Regions from separate parts of the Homo sapiens genome. Here all the other regions are linked to region 1. Evidence: promoter capture Hi-C in human tissues and cell types (Jung and others, 2019). All regions are on one chromosome and are shown on one strand. The core of a region is centred on a gene start or on the middle of the fragment in contact, and the rest is flanking DNA. Distances in the headings are between cores, read along the strand shown.

Region 1 (2,571 bases), core at 47-2,546:
TCCATGCACCTTTTGCTTTCTTTATTAAGGCATGATGTCACCTGTACAGTAACTGCCCTGTGTGTACTTCAGGGGGGGATTTCAAGGTTAGATAGACAGGAAATTGTTTTGAAAATGTAAACACATTATTAAATGTGAAGTATTATCTGATTCCTTGTTCGAATGGCATTTCCTTCTCAGCACCACCTTCCTTGCATATTCACTTAACCTTGTACAAGAACACCTTTTTGCCCTAAATGAAGACACCCCCCCAAAAAAAAGAGTCCCAGAAAATATGTCCCTGCTTGTGCGGGGAATAAATAGAATATTCTGAGGTGCATTCCTCCTTCCTATGTTAGGCAACATTCCTTGACCCTCCTCGGCCCCCAAGCCAGGTTGCGTTTTTTTCTGCCATTTAGAAGGGTTTTCCTTTTTGTCCTAGTAAAACATCAGCCCCTGTAGCTCTTCATCTCCCCCTGGTGTTCTTCTCCCGCCATGTCTTAAGATTGGTGGCACCGACCAATCTTAAGATTTAAGTTCTGTGTGAAAAACACCTTTGCTTTTCAATCAGTTTATCAGCCTCCTCCGCAGGGGAAGTGTGGACACACAAAAGAACTTATCGGGGCTTCTCATCAGTGATAGGGAAAAGACTGGGCATGTGCCTAAACGAGCTCTGATGTTATTTTTAAGCTCCCTTTCTTGCCAATCCCTCACGGATCTTTCTCCGATAGATGCAAAGAACTTCAGCAAAAAAGACCCGCAGGAAGGGGCTTGAAGAGAAAAGTACGTTGATCTGCCAAAATAGTCTGACCCCCAGTAGTGGGGCAGTGACGAGGGAGAGCATTCCCTTGTTTGACTGAGACTAGAATCGGAGAGACATAAAAGGAAAATGAAGCGAGCAACAATTAAAAAAAATTCCCCGCACACAACAATACAATCTATTTAAACTGTGGCTCATACTTTTCATACCAATGGTATGACTTTTTTTCTGGAGTCCCCTCTTCTGATTCTTGAACTCCGGGGCTGGCAGCTTGCAAAGGGGAAGCGGACTCCAGCACTGCACGGGCAGGTTTAGCAAAGGTCTCTAATGGGTATTTTCTTTTTCTTAGCCCTGCCCCCGAATTGTCAGACGGCGGGCGTCTGCCTCTGAAGTTAGCAGTGATTTCCTTTCGGGCCTGGCCTTATCTCCGGCTGCACGTTGCCTGTTGGTGACTAATAACACAATAACATTGTCTGGGGCTGGAATAAAGTCGGAGCTGTTTACCCCCACTCTAATAGGGGTTCAATATAAAAAGCCGGCAGAGAGCTGTCCAAGTCAGACGCGCCTCTGCATCTGCGCCAGGCGAACGGGTCCTGCGCCTCCTGCAGTCCCAGCTCTCCACCGCCGCGTGCGCCTGCAGACGCTCCGCTCGCTGCCTTCTCTCCTGGCAGGCGCTGCCTTTTCTCCCCGTTAAAAGGGCACTTGGGCTGAAGGATCGCTTTGAGATCTGAGGAACCCGCAGCGCTTTGAGGGACCTGAAGCTGTTTTTCTTCGTTTTCCTTTGGGTTCAGTTTGAACGGGAGGTTTTTGATCCCTTTTTTTCAGAATGGATTATTTGCTCATGATTTTCTCTCTGCTGTTTGTGGCTTGCCAAGGAGCTCCAGAAACAGGTAGGCACGCTCGTTGACTTGTAAGTCTCGGAATTACAAGTTAGTGTGTTCTTATCCACCTTCATGCTTTTCTTGCTTCTATTTTTCCCCGTTCTTTTTATGACTGCAGCTTAGAGAGCAAGTGTCTGAGAATTATTGCTGAAAGCTACTTTAAGTCTTCTAGTGTAAAATGTAAAATTCCTCTATTGAATACAATTAGGTGCAATTGACTATAACATGACATTAAAATAACTTATCGTTTTATTATTATTATTCCATTATGTGTTTCCTTGGCTTTTAAAAAATGAGAAGAGTATGGACATATACAATTTAGTCAAATGTATGTTTGTAATATATGTGTTTATACAGGTACACAGGCCATATAGGAACTTAAATCTTATTTAAACACTATTTTAATAGTGTGTTAACGTGTAAAATATTTAAGCATTCCAGCTTGAAGCCAAGGAATTGTATCCAGTCGTTCAAGCAATGTATGTTCAGTAAAATCACCTGCAGAGCAAAAGTCTGTTGACTAACTACCGCCTCCCCCCCCCCCCGCCACCACCCCCCGCAGGCGGTTTCTGGGTGAAGCAGATGTTTTCTTTAAAATTTGTCATCATTGACTTTAGGTTTCTTTTGGCAGGTTTTTGGCACCCAAAACAGTGTGAGCTCTCTTTTCAGCTTTATTCACCTGTGCTGGGAGGGGAGCTAGGATAATTCTTGGCTGCCGAAGGATTTAGGCAGTGCGTGTGCATCTGCCCGGGTCCCCCCCGTTTTTAGGGTCAGTGCACTTTTTTTGTCTTTTCGTGACCCTGACTAAAGAGAAAGGATGTCAAGGGAATGAAAATCCTGGAATGTGTCTGATCATTTGAAATGTACAAAATTGGGCAGATAAGCTGCATGGCTAAATTGTTAGGAGGAAGAGGCAAGGCAGTAGTGGAGAAGGGGGAGGCAGTGGATCCC
Region 2 (2,571 bases), core at 37-2,536, 440 kb before region 1:
CTCATCTGAAATGCTTAGAACCAGACATATTTTGGATTTTGATTTTTTTTCAGATTTGGGAATATTTCCATATATGTAGTGAGATATCTTGGGGATAGGACCCAAGCAAAATTCACTTATGCTTTAGATAGCCTGAAGGTAATTTTATACAATATGTTTAATAATTTTGTGCATAAAACAAAGCTTTGACTGCATTTTGACTTTGATCTGTCACATGAGGTCAGGTGTGGAATTTTCCACTTGTGGCATCATTTTGGGGCTCAAACAGTTTCAGATTTGGGAGCATTTTGGATTTTGAATTTGGGAATTGGAGATGATCAACTGTAATGAAAATACCTTCTGGAGCCCAGCATAGGTGATTTGAAATGGTGACTACGCTTTAGTGGACGGAGGTAGTCACATGGGATGTGGGCGTTGCATGCACTTATGATGGAGTTCATGAAGACATATGTGCCTGCAATGGCACAATCCCATCTTTAAGGAAACGGCCCTAAATCCTTTGATCTTCCTCAGTAGACCCTGTGACTTGCACAGGCTGCTTAGTTTGGGAGGTAAAATCAGTTATCATGTTTACTCTGGACATAGCAGATTGGAATTGGAAAAGAACTGCTATCCTACCCAATGCCACTGGGCTAGAGAGAGATCTACCCCCTATAGGCAGGCATTGACTAGCCAGTGGAAGTGCTTGGCAATGAGGTCATCTTATCTGATTATTTCTTTTGGAAAGTGTAAGTGCTAGGTGAACACAAAAAGGTCTAGTCACTTGAGCTTGAGTTCATTTCCTAAGGGACACAGATTTTTTTCTTGTAGAATCAAAAATATGTCACAGATTCCAGGACAAGAAGGTCTAAAATCCAAGGTGATGGTGAGATGAAAAACAATCCTCCTACCCCACATTTCCAAAAACACTTAAAATCAATTTTCATTTTACAGTTATATGATCTGTAGGTGCATTGTCCTCACAACCCCAAAGAATTTGACTGGCAGGACCAGTTCTGTTGAGAAAGAACCAAGGAATGCAATCCTTTCACAGGTTCAGGCTATGTGGGCACAGATCTGGGGCAGCCTCCCGGAAAACCTGCAGCGACCCGTAGCTCTGCAGAGAGTAAAGCAAGCTTGAAGCACTAAATGACCAATGTAGATGGTATTGTCCTATTATTACATATATACTTGAAAAACAAACTGTGTTGTATTGCAACCCTTTATCAATGTGGCTCACGACTTCTGGCATCTGTCCCCCAGGTCTGTGGCTGTCCTTGTCAAAGAATCTTTGGTTAGGCAATGAGCCACCAACAGAACAGAAAATAAGATTTGAGGATCCTGGCTCCAACCTTTCACTCTTAATTTCAGACTACAGCCTCTAATACCAAACCACATACAGCAAGAACATTCTAGGTTAACATTCGTTGGGTTGAGGGAGAGTAGTAGAGGTACATTCCTCCCTCCCCAAACGTAGATCATTCCTCGTATTGGAGAGTCACTCCTATTCTGTTTCAGTTGCCCTAGGGAGGAAAAATGTAAAGTGTGGAAACTCAGTGGCTGCTATCTGTTCTGCAGATAGTACATAGAAATGCTGTTACAAGCACAGTGTTTCCTGATCCTACAAGATTCCTCCAATGTCCCAGAGGGAGAGCGTTTTAAAACACATGACCACCTGTAAGGTCCCTGGCACCATATTCCAGGGCTCCATCTGCACTTTGCATCTTGGCCCTCCAGGGCCCTGATGGTAGATCTCCCCCAGTGGCACGGCCAACTCACAGCTACTACATCCTTAGTGACTTACAACATCCCTTCAGGTAGGTGGGCATCTTCTTTCAGATGGCATTCTTTCTTTTTAGGAACAGTTCCTGGAAGCCACCCTTGCATTCTAATTAGGGGTGATGGCTCATTTGTTAGCTCTCAGAATACAATCAATGACAATGACAGGTGATATGGTTTGACTGTGTCCCCACCCAAATCTTATCTTGAATTATAGCTCCCATAATCCCCACATGTCATGGGAGGGACCCAGTGGGAGATAATTGAATCATGGGGGAAGGTTTTCCCATGCTGTTCTCATGATAGTGAATAAGTCTCACAAGACTCAATGGTCATATAAAGGGGAGATTCCCTGTACATGCTGTCTTGCCTGCTGCCATGTAGGACGTGCCTCTGCTCCTCCTTTGCCTTCTGCCATGATTGTGAGGCCTCCCCAGCCATGTGGAACTGTAAGTCCATTAAACCTCTTTTTCTTTATAAATTACCCAGTCTTGGGTATTTCTTCATAGCCGTATGAAAATGGACTGATACAACAGGCCAGACTGTGGTACATGAATCAACTTATATGTCACCCCATCTGCTCATGGCTCAGGGGCTTCTATGAAGAGCTTTTCCAGGCACAGAATCTATGTGACCCCTCTCAGAGAAACATGCCCCTCTCTCTGTTGGAGCTCTTTTTCTTTATTTTATTATTTTATTTTCTCTTACTACAAGACATAATTGGTGCACTGCTTCCAAGGAGCAGTTGTGAAAAGGGACTTTCTGGAATTCACCTGAAATAGACCAGACCACAAAGGGGTGGTTTGAGTTTAG
Region 3 (2,571 bases), core at 33-2,532, 400 kb before region 1:
GGGGATTCCCCATCCTCTTAATACTGCAAAGCCAACCTCACACAACCCCCAGTTGTACACTCTTTTCCCAAGTGCAACACCTATATAGCCCTGGATGGTGCGCAGTGCCCTCCCATTGCAGGCTACGGGTATATGTAACTGATAAACTGCTGTCAAGCTCATCTGTACAGCACTGAGTGTCTTAAGTTTGGCCATCCCAAGAACCATAGAGTAGAAATTTCTCCCTTGCCAATGGGATAAATAGAAGACAATAAAAACATGAAATTATTCACAGCTGTGTTCTCTAACCACAAGGGAATCAACCAAAAATGAATAATAGGAAGACCAAAACAATCTCCTAACACCAAAAAATTAAGCAACAAACTTCTAAATAATCTGTGGATAAAAGAGAAAATCTGAAGGGAAGTAAAAAAAGACTTGATGAGTAACCAAAGATGAAAAATAATGAGAGAGACAAAGGGGTTAAATGTGATTTGAAGTTTAGATGCTGAGAGAAGACAAGCTAGCCATCATAGATCATCTTAAGAAATCAATGCAGGCTGGGCACAGTGGCTAATGCCTATAATCTCAGCCCTTTGGGAGGCCAAGGCAGGCGGATCACCGGAGGTCAGGAGTTCGAGACCAGCCTGGCCAACATGGCGAAACCACGTCTCTACTAAAAATACAAAAATTAGCCGGGCATGTTGGTGGGTGCCTGTAATCCCAGCCACTCGGGAGGCTGAGGCAGGAGAATTGCTGGAACCTGAGAGGCAGAGGTTGCAGTGAGCTGAGATCGTGCTACTGCACTCCAGTCTGGGCAACAGAGCGAGATTCCGTATCAAAAAAAAAAAAAAAAAAAAAAAAAAATTCAATGCAGATTTGTGAATTTCATCAACTAGTTAGCCGACTTGGAAAGTGGAAGCAGGTACAGAGTTCTGAGAGAAAAGATTGATAGGTGGAAGATGGAAAGAGAAAGCTGAAGCTAAACTACGGAATACCGACCAGAAACAGACCCTAGTGAGTTGCCTTCACAGGACACAGCAATAAGCCCATGGAAGAAGGTGGAAAAGAGCTGAGGTTGCGGTTTGACACTAAAACATTCCTTCCTTTTCTCTGATGTCCAGTATCCCATTGTTTAGCTCTTTTTGTTTGGAATTCTGACAAGGAACGTGGGCAACTTAAGTTTAATAATATGATGGAAGTTCTCTGCAAAGTGGTCCACTCTGGGCAAACACAAGTTATTCTATTATCTTTCCTTTACCTTCATGGGAGCTCAGGTCCTCTTACCTGTTCAGAACTTACAGATATTTGGGAGATTATTTTGCAATTATAACTACAAAGATAGGAGAAGAGGCCAAAAAAAAAAACAAACTCCACAGTTTAATTTTTTTCATTATTTTATAATTTAGCACTTCACCCAATCTATTCAACTTGACTTTTTATATTCTCGTCAAGTAACCTTTGCTCAAGCCAGACCAAATATTTTCCTGTTCATGAGTAAGCCAAGCTCATTTCTATTCCCAAATTTCTGAAAGTTAATTAGTTTTATTCTCTGACAGGGTAGCAATGACTAACTTTTAAAAGTCAGAGCAGTATAATTGAAATAGCACTGATTATATGTAACACATATTACATAATACATATATAATTATACGTATAATTATCTCTTTAAATATACACAAACCTATATCTAGATATAGGCACTGGTTTATATATTTATATTTATATGTTTATAACTGAAAGGATAATTATAGAATGTGATTAATATTCATCTGTGGGTTATGGCCTACATGTTAATGCCAAAGGCAAGAAAGAATTCAGTCACCAATTGCTACACACATAGCATTCAAATCAATTAGTGCAAGAATGCCCATGGGCGTGTGCACACACACATACAAGCATACATAATTCATTTCAATTCTCTTTCCAGTTTTCTTATAAACATCTCCATCTGCAAAAAATTCTAAAGATTTTTACAACGTATGACACACCAGTTAGGAAATCATAATGTTCATTATTCATAACATCATGCACCATGACCGAATTATGATCTAAGTGCTCTGGGGTAATGGAGAAAGATTCATAGCCTCAAGGAGGAATATTTTATGGCTAATTTTCTATTATCCTTTCTATGCCATTCTAGGAATAGGTAAAATAATCTCACCCATTTTTCTGTAACTTTTCTGGTGTCTAATTGTGGTGAAGAACATCAAAAATTATTGCAGAGAAAATCACTCTCCACTAATTCTCCATTTTTATGTTTATTTTTTACATTTTATTTTTCCTTTATAACATATACAAAGCAATTTAACACAAAAACACAACTTAAAACATCTAAGCTGTGGAAAGGAGAATGTGTGTGGTGTAGTCAATAGGTAAATACTGTATTTATAAATATGCATGTACACAGTCTCCATTTATCACAACATTACTTCTATTTAATTCACTTTTTGGTGACTACCTATTATTCTCAAATATTTTGGAAGTGCTTTGATAGCTTAAAAGAAGAAAGTGAAGGAGAGTGAAGGAAGGCATAACTTATAAAAACATCCCATATATTAAAAATGCTGATGATACAATTCATTTAAAATG
Region 4 (2,571 bases), core at 53-2,552, 380 kb before region 1:
AGCTTTTTTCATACGCTTGTTGCCTGCATGTATGTCTTCTATTGAAAAGTGTCTTTTCATGTCCTTTGCCCACTTTTTAATGGGGTTCTTTGTTTTTTTCTCATACATTTGTATAAGTTTCTTATAGATGTTGGGTATTAGACCTTTGTCAGATGTATAGCTTGCAAATATTTTATCCCATTCTAGTTCTTTGAAGAAAGTTATTGGTAGTTTGATAGCAATAGCACTGAATCTGTACATTGCTTTGAGCAGTATGGACATTTTAATGATATTGATTCTTCCTATCTATGAGCATCGGATGCTTTTCCATTTGTGTCTTCTCTGATTTCTTTGAGCAGTGTTTTGTAACTCTCATTGTAGACTTCTGATTTTAAACTAAAATCTTACTAAGTTTAGTTTAGTATTGGAAATTTTACAATATATAAGACTTAAATGCTCAGAAAGATTTTGTTGTTGTTGAGAAAATTGAAATACATGTCCTATAAAACTAAATTAAACGTGTCAAATTTATAAACAAAATTTTAAACGTTTGAAGGTTTAAACATTTTAGCAAAATCTGTAAATATGACCAAACTGAATTTAAAAACCCCTTAAAAATAACTGATAAAATTTACTAGACTTAAAAATAGAGTAAGATTTGTAAGCTAAATTGAAAGCCTATGAATTGCATTTTTTTAAAACTGCCTTCAAGTTTTTCAAAAAGCTCATATCAATAGAAAGAAGCTTCACTACCAAAATATTTTTCAGGGAATATTTTGGATCACAGAGGTAGGCTGAAATAGCGAGCTTTCCAACAGATTTTTTAACGTTCATAGAAAATATCAACCCAATCATCAGCTAGGCTATTTTCTAAAGTATATAGAACTACATGTAATAAGCAAAATATTCCAGGACTCTTTTGAGGAGTTTAACAATATAGCTAACTTCAAAATCACTGCTACTCAATGTTAGCAAAAGTTCAGGGAGAGAAGCACTATTTACCAAATGTTGCCTAAAGTATATGCAATTCATCCATTTCTCCAAGTAACCTAAACCTTCTACAGAATTAAGCCAGACCATCAGAAAGCTGGTCTCCATTCTCCTTGTCCTTCCCATTTAACACCACAGAACTTCTTTTTTTTGGCGGGGGGGGGGTGGGAATAGCCTTGTTTATTCTTTTTTTTTTATTATACTTTAAGTTCTAGGGTACATGTGCACAACGTGCAGGTTTGTTACATATGTATACATGTGCCATGTTGGTGTGCTGCACCCATTAACTCATCATTTACATTAGGTATATCTCCTAATGCTATCCCTCTCCCTTCCCCCAACCCCACGACAGGCCCCGGTGTGTGATGTTCCCCTTCCTGTGTCCAAGTGTTCTCATTGTTCAGTTCCCACCTATGAGTGAGAACATGTGGTGTTTGGTTTTTTGTCCTTGTGATAGTTTGCTGAGAATGATGGTTTCCAGCTTCATCCATGTCCCTACAAAGGACATGAACTCATCCTTTTTTAGGCTGCATAGTATTCCATGGAGTATATGTGCCACGTTTTCTTAATCCAGTCTATCATTGATGGACATTTGGGTTGGTTCCAAGTCTTTGCTATTGTGAATACTGCAGCAATAAACCTATGTGTGCATGTGTCTTTATAGCAGCATGATTTAAATCCTTTGGGTATACACCCAGTAATGGGATGGCTGGGTCAAATGGTATTTCTACTTCTAGATCCTTGAGGAATCGCCACACTGTCTTCCACAATGGTTGAACGAGTTTACCATCCCACCAACAGTGTAAAAGTGTTCCTATTTGTCCACATCCTCTCCAGCACCTGTTGTTTCCTGACTTTTTAATTATCTCCATTCTAACTGAACACCATAGAACTTCTTTGAATAGACTTTTTTTTCAAGACTGTGGCATCAACCTGCATGCATTGCGTTGTGGGAAACAAATCTATGAAATTTGATGTTGGACACACTCTTGATTAACTGAGGACTCCATTCACTGCATCACACAGGGTCTTCTTGCCAGAGACCCACAGGAGGAAATTTGCTGGGGACATAGTACCAGGGAAAGTTGTGTCTTGACCTTAATTATTTTATGAATCAGATAAATAATCATTACATCATCTTTCTCTGTATTGGCTGCTAGAAACCTCAGAGACACATCCATGGACTTCTACAAACTATGGTGATTCTCATGGCCCACATATTATAGATTGAGCTCTCCTTTGACTTGGCTTGACTTGACTTTTTCAACTTATTTTTATTTCACTAAATCATGTTTACTTATTTTTATCTTGTGTTATTTTGTATTAATAGGTATACATAAGTATATATGCTGTAAGTCTGTAAATCACTCTTAGAATGATTAATGGAACACAGTAACTCCTAACTGTATTGTTCATCAGCAAAAGCGAAATTTCAAAACCAAAGGGAAGCAATGCAGACAGAGATGAGACAGAGGACCCTACATGACAGCTGAAAGTAGGTTAAAAAAAAACCTATAAAAAAGATACACTGTTTTTAATTGTCTTCTGAAAAAAGTTTGGAAGGTGGGAGGTTGAGGGAGCAGGGAATATGTGAAAATTCGA
Region 5 (2,571 bases), core at 51-2,550, 350 kb after region 1:
ATAGCATTATGAGAAATACCTGATGTAAATGACGGGTTGATGGGTGCAGCAAACCACCATGGCACGTGTATACCTATGTAACAAACCTGCATGTACTGCACATGTACCCCAGAACTTAAAGTATAATAAAAAAATGTAATACCCTTTGACTAGTAATATGGCTCTGGAAATTACTGGAAGCTTAGTCAAAGAATATATACGAAAAGTTTATTCTGGCATTCTTTATTCTAACAATAAATTATATGCCCCCAAATATCCAATAATGCCACATAAACTTTAATGTTCATATATATCAGAAGGAAAAGGAAATGAAAATATATCATATCTTCTGTATTTGTTTTCTCTGGGTATTGGGTCACAGTTTTTGTTTTTAATTTTACATTTTGTTTCTCATACTTTGTAAAAAAGATTGTATTACTTTTACAATCAGAAAAAAACATTTCAAAAATCAACTTGAGTCATAATTATCGTACAACAAAATGTATACAATCTAAGTGTAGAATTTAGTGACTTTTGACAAACGATATCCTGATGTAACAATCGTGTGACACCCATCACAATCGAGATATAGAATATTTGCAGTCAAATTTCATCACTTCAAACCCCATCAACACATGGGCAATATTCTGTCACTATAGACCAGTTTAGATTTTCCTAAAATTTAATGTAAATGAAATTATACAATATATAATCTTTTTTGCTTATCTTCTTTCCCTCAGCATAATGTTTTTGAGATTTAAACAGGATGATGCATAGGTTAATAGTTTGTTCCTTTTTATTGTTGAGAAGTGTTGATTTTAACATAAGTAACAATTTGTTTATCTAATCAACTGATGATGGACATTTGGGTTGTTTCCTGTTTAGAGTAATTACAAATAAAGCTTCTAATTACATTCGTGTAAAATTCTTCCTGTAAACTTATGCTTTAGTTTGTCTTAGGTACATACAGTGGAGTAAAATTTCTGGCTAGCACTGTAAAACAATATTTAAATTTATAACAAAACATCAAATTCTGTTCCAATGTAATTATACCAATTTACCTTCCCAACAGCAATGCATGAAAGTTTCAGATGTTCCAGATTCTCACCAACACTTGGTATTGTCAGCCTTTTTAATTTTAGCTATCCTGGTGGTGAGGAATGGGATCTCTTAGTTTTTATTTCCCTGGTGACTAATGATGTTGAGCTACTTTCATGTGCTTATTGACCATCTGTATACACTTTTTTTGGCGAAGAATCTGCTAAAATCTTTTCCCTATTTGTACCTGGTATGTTCAAAAACTTTTTATTGAGTTGTAAGAGTACACTGTAAGTTCTAAAGTCCTTTGTCAGATATATGTATTGTGAATTTTTTCCTAGCATATGACTTGACTTCTCATTTTTCTTAACAGTTTCTTTTGAAGAGCATTTTTGAATTTTAATGTCATGTAATTTATTAATTTTTTCTTTTATAGTTTATGTTTTTGGTATCATATTTAAGAAATATCTTCTTCCTACAAGGGAAGAAGATATACTTCTATGCTTTCTGTTTAAAGTACCATACTTTCAGCTTTTATGTTTATGTGAATGTCTGTTTCTGTTCATTTTTATATATATATTGTGAGGTGATTTGAAGATTCAATTTTTTATGTGGATATCTAACTGTTCTGGTGCCATTTGTTGAAAAGACAAGTTTTTCACCAGTTAATTATCCTGAAATGTTTGTTAAAAGTCAACCACCTGGCTGGGTGCAGTGGCTCATGCCTGTAATCCCAGCATTTTGGGAGGCCAAGGGGGGTGGATCATGAGGTCAGGAGATCGAGACCATTCTGGCCAACGTGGTGAAACTCTGTCTCTACTAAAAAAAAAATACAAAAATTAGCTGGGCATGGTGGTGCATGCCTGTAATCCCAACTACTTGGGAGGCTGAGGCAGGAGAATGGCATGAACCCAGGAGTCAGAGGTTGCAGTGAGCCGAGACTGCGCCACTGCACTCCAGCCTGGCGACAGAGCGAGACTCCATTAAAAAAAAAAAAAATCAACCACCTGTAAATGTAACAGTCCACTTCTTTTTTTTCTTTCTTTCTTTTTTTGTATTTCTACATTGCATTGAACAAGAGCTTTTCATTTTTTTAAATTTTACTTCAAGTTCTGGGGCACATGTGCAGAATGTGCCAGTTTGTTACATAGGTATACATATGCCACGGTGGTTTGCTGCACCCATCAACCTGTCATTTACATTAGGTATTTCTCCTATTGCTATCCCATCCCCCACCCCCCACCCCCTGACAAGCCCTGGTGTGTGATGTTCCCCTACCTGTGTCCATGTGTTCTCATTGTTCAACTCCCACTTATGAGTAAGAACATGCCATTTTTGGTTTTCTGTTCTTGTGTTAGTTTGCTGAGAATGATGGTTTCCAGCTTCATCCATGTCCCTGCAAAGGACATGAACTCATCCTTTTTCATGGCTGCATAGTATTCTGTGATGTTTACATGCCACATTTTCTTTATCCAATCTATGATTGATGGGCATTTGGGTTGGTTCCAAGTCTTTGCTATTGTGAACAGCGCTGCAATAAACATACGTATGCAT

The links. Contacts are between HindIII fragments. The study calls those that stand out against the background at their distance.
Region 2: a fragment that was not itself captured here is called in contact with the fragment with the promoter of EDN1 in region 1 in 1 of the 25 tissues and cell types used here (stomach).
Region 3: a fragment that was not itself captured here is called in contact with the fragment with the promoter of EDN1 in region 1 in 1 of the 25 tissues and cell types used here (H1 embryonic stem cells).
Region 4: a fragment that was not itself captured here is called in contact with the fragment with the promoter of EDN1 in region 1 in 1 of the 25 tissues and cell types used here (hippocampus).
Region 5: a contact is called between a fragment that was not itself captured here and the fragment with the promoter of EDN1 in region 1, in 1 of the 25 tissues and cell types used here (H1 embryonic stem cells).

Annotation. Positions count from the first base shown.
Region 1 is chr6:12,289,065-12,291,635 of GRCh38, forward strand. It overlaps EDN1 (endothelin 1), which reads left to right and starts at 1,297. Exons shown (of 5, transcript NM_001955.5): 1 at 1,297-1,629. The coding sequence starts at 1,566. RefSeq lists enhancers at 1,050-1,149, 1,160-1,229. The HindIII fragment of the contact is 6,997 bases long and covers 1-2,571 here.
Region 2 is chr6:11,845,141-11,847,711 of GRCh38, forward strand. No RefSeq gene overlaps it. Among named protein-coding and RNA genes, the nearest start is that of ADTRP, 68 kb to the left of the region's middle. The HindIII fragment of the contact is 6,547 bases long and covers 1-2,571 here.
Region 3 is chr6:11,887,867-11,890,437 of GRCh38, forward strand. No RefSeq gene overlaps it. Among named protein-coding and RNA genes, the nearest start is that of ADTRP, 110 kb to the left of the region's middle. The HindIII fragment of the contact is 7,288 bases long and covers 1-2,571 here.
Region 4 is chr6:11,905,539-11,908,109 of GRCh38, forward strand. No RefSeq gene overlaps it. Among named protein-coding and RNA genes, the nearest start is that of HIVEP1, 110 kb to the right of the region's middle. The HindIII fragment of the contact is 8,680 bases long and covers 1-2,571 here.
Region 5 is chr6:12,639,537-12,642,107 of GRCh38, forward strand. No RefSeq gene overlaps it. Among named protein-coding and RNA genes, the nearest start is that of LINC02530, 55 kb to the left of the region's middle. The HindIII fragment of the contact is 3,441 bases long and covers 1-2,571 here.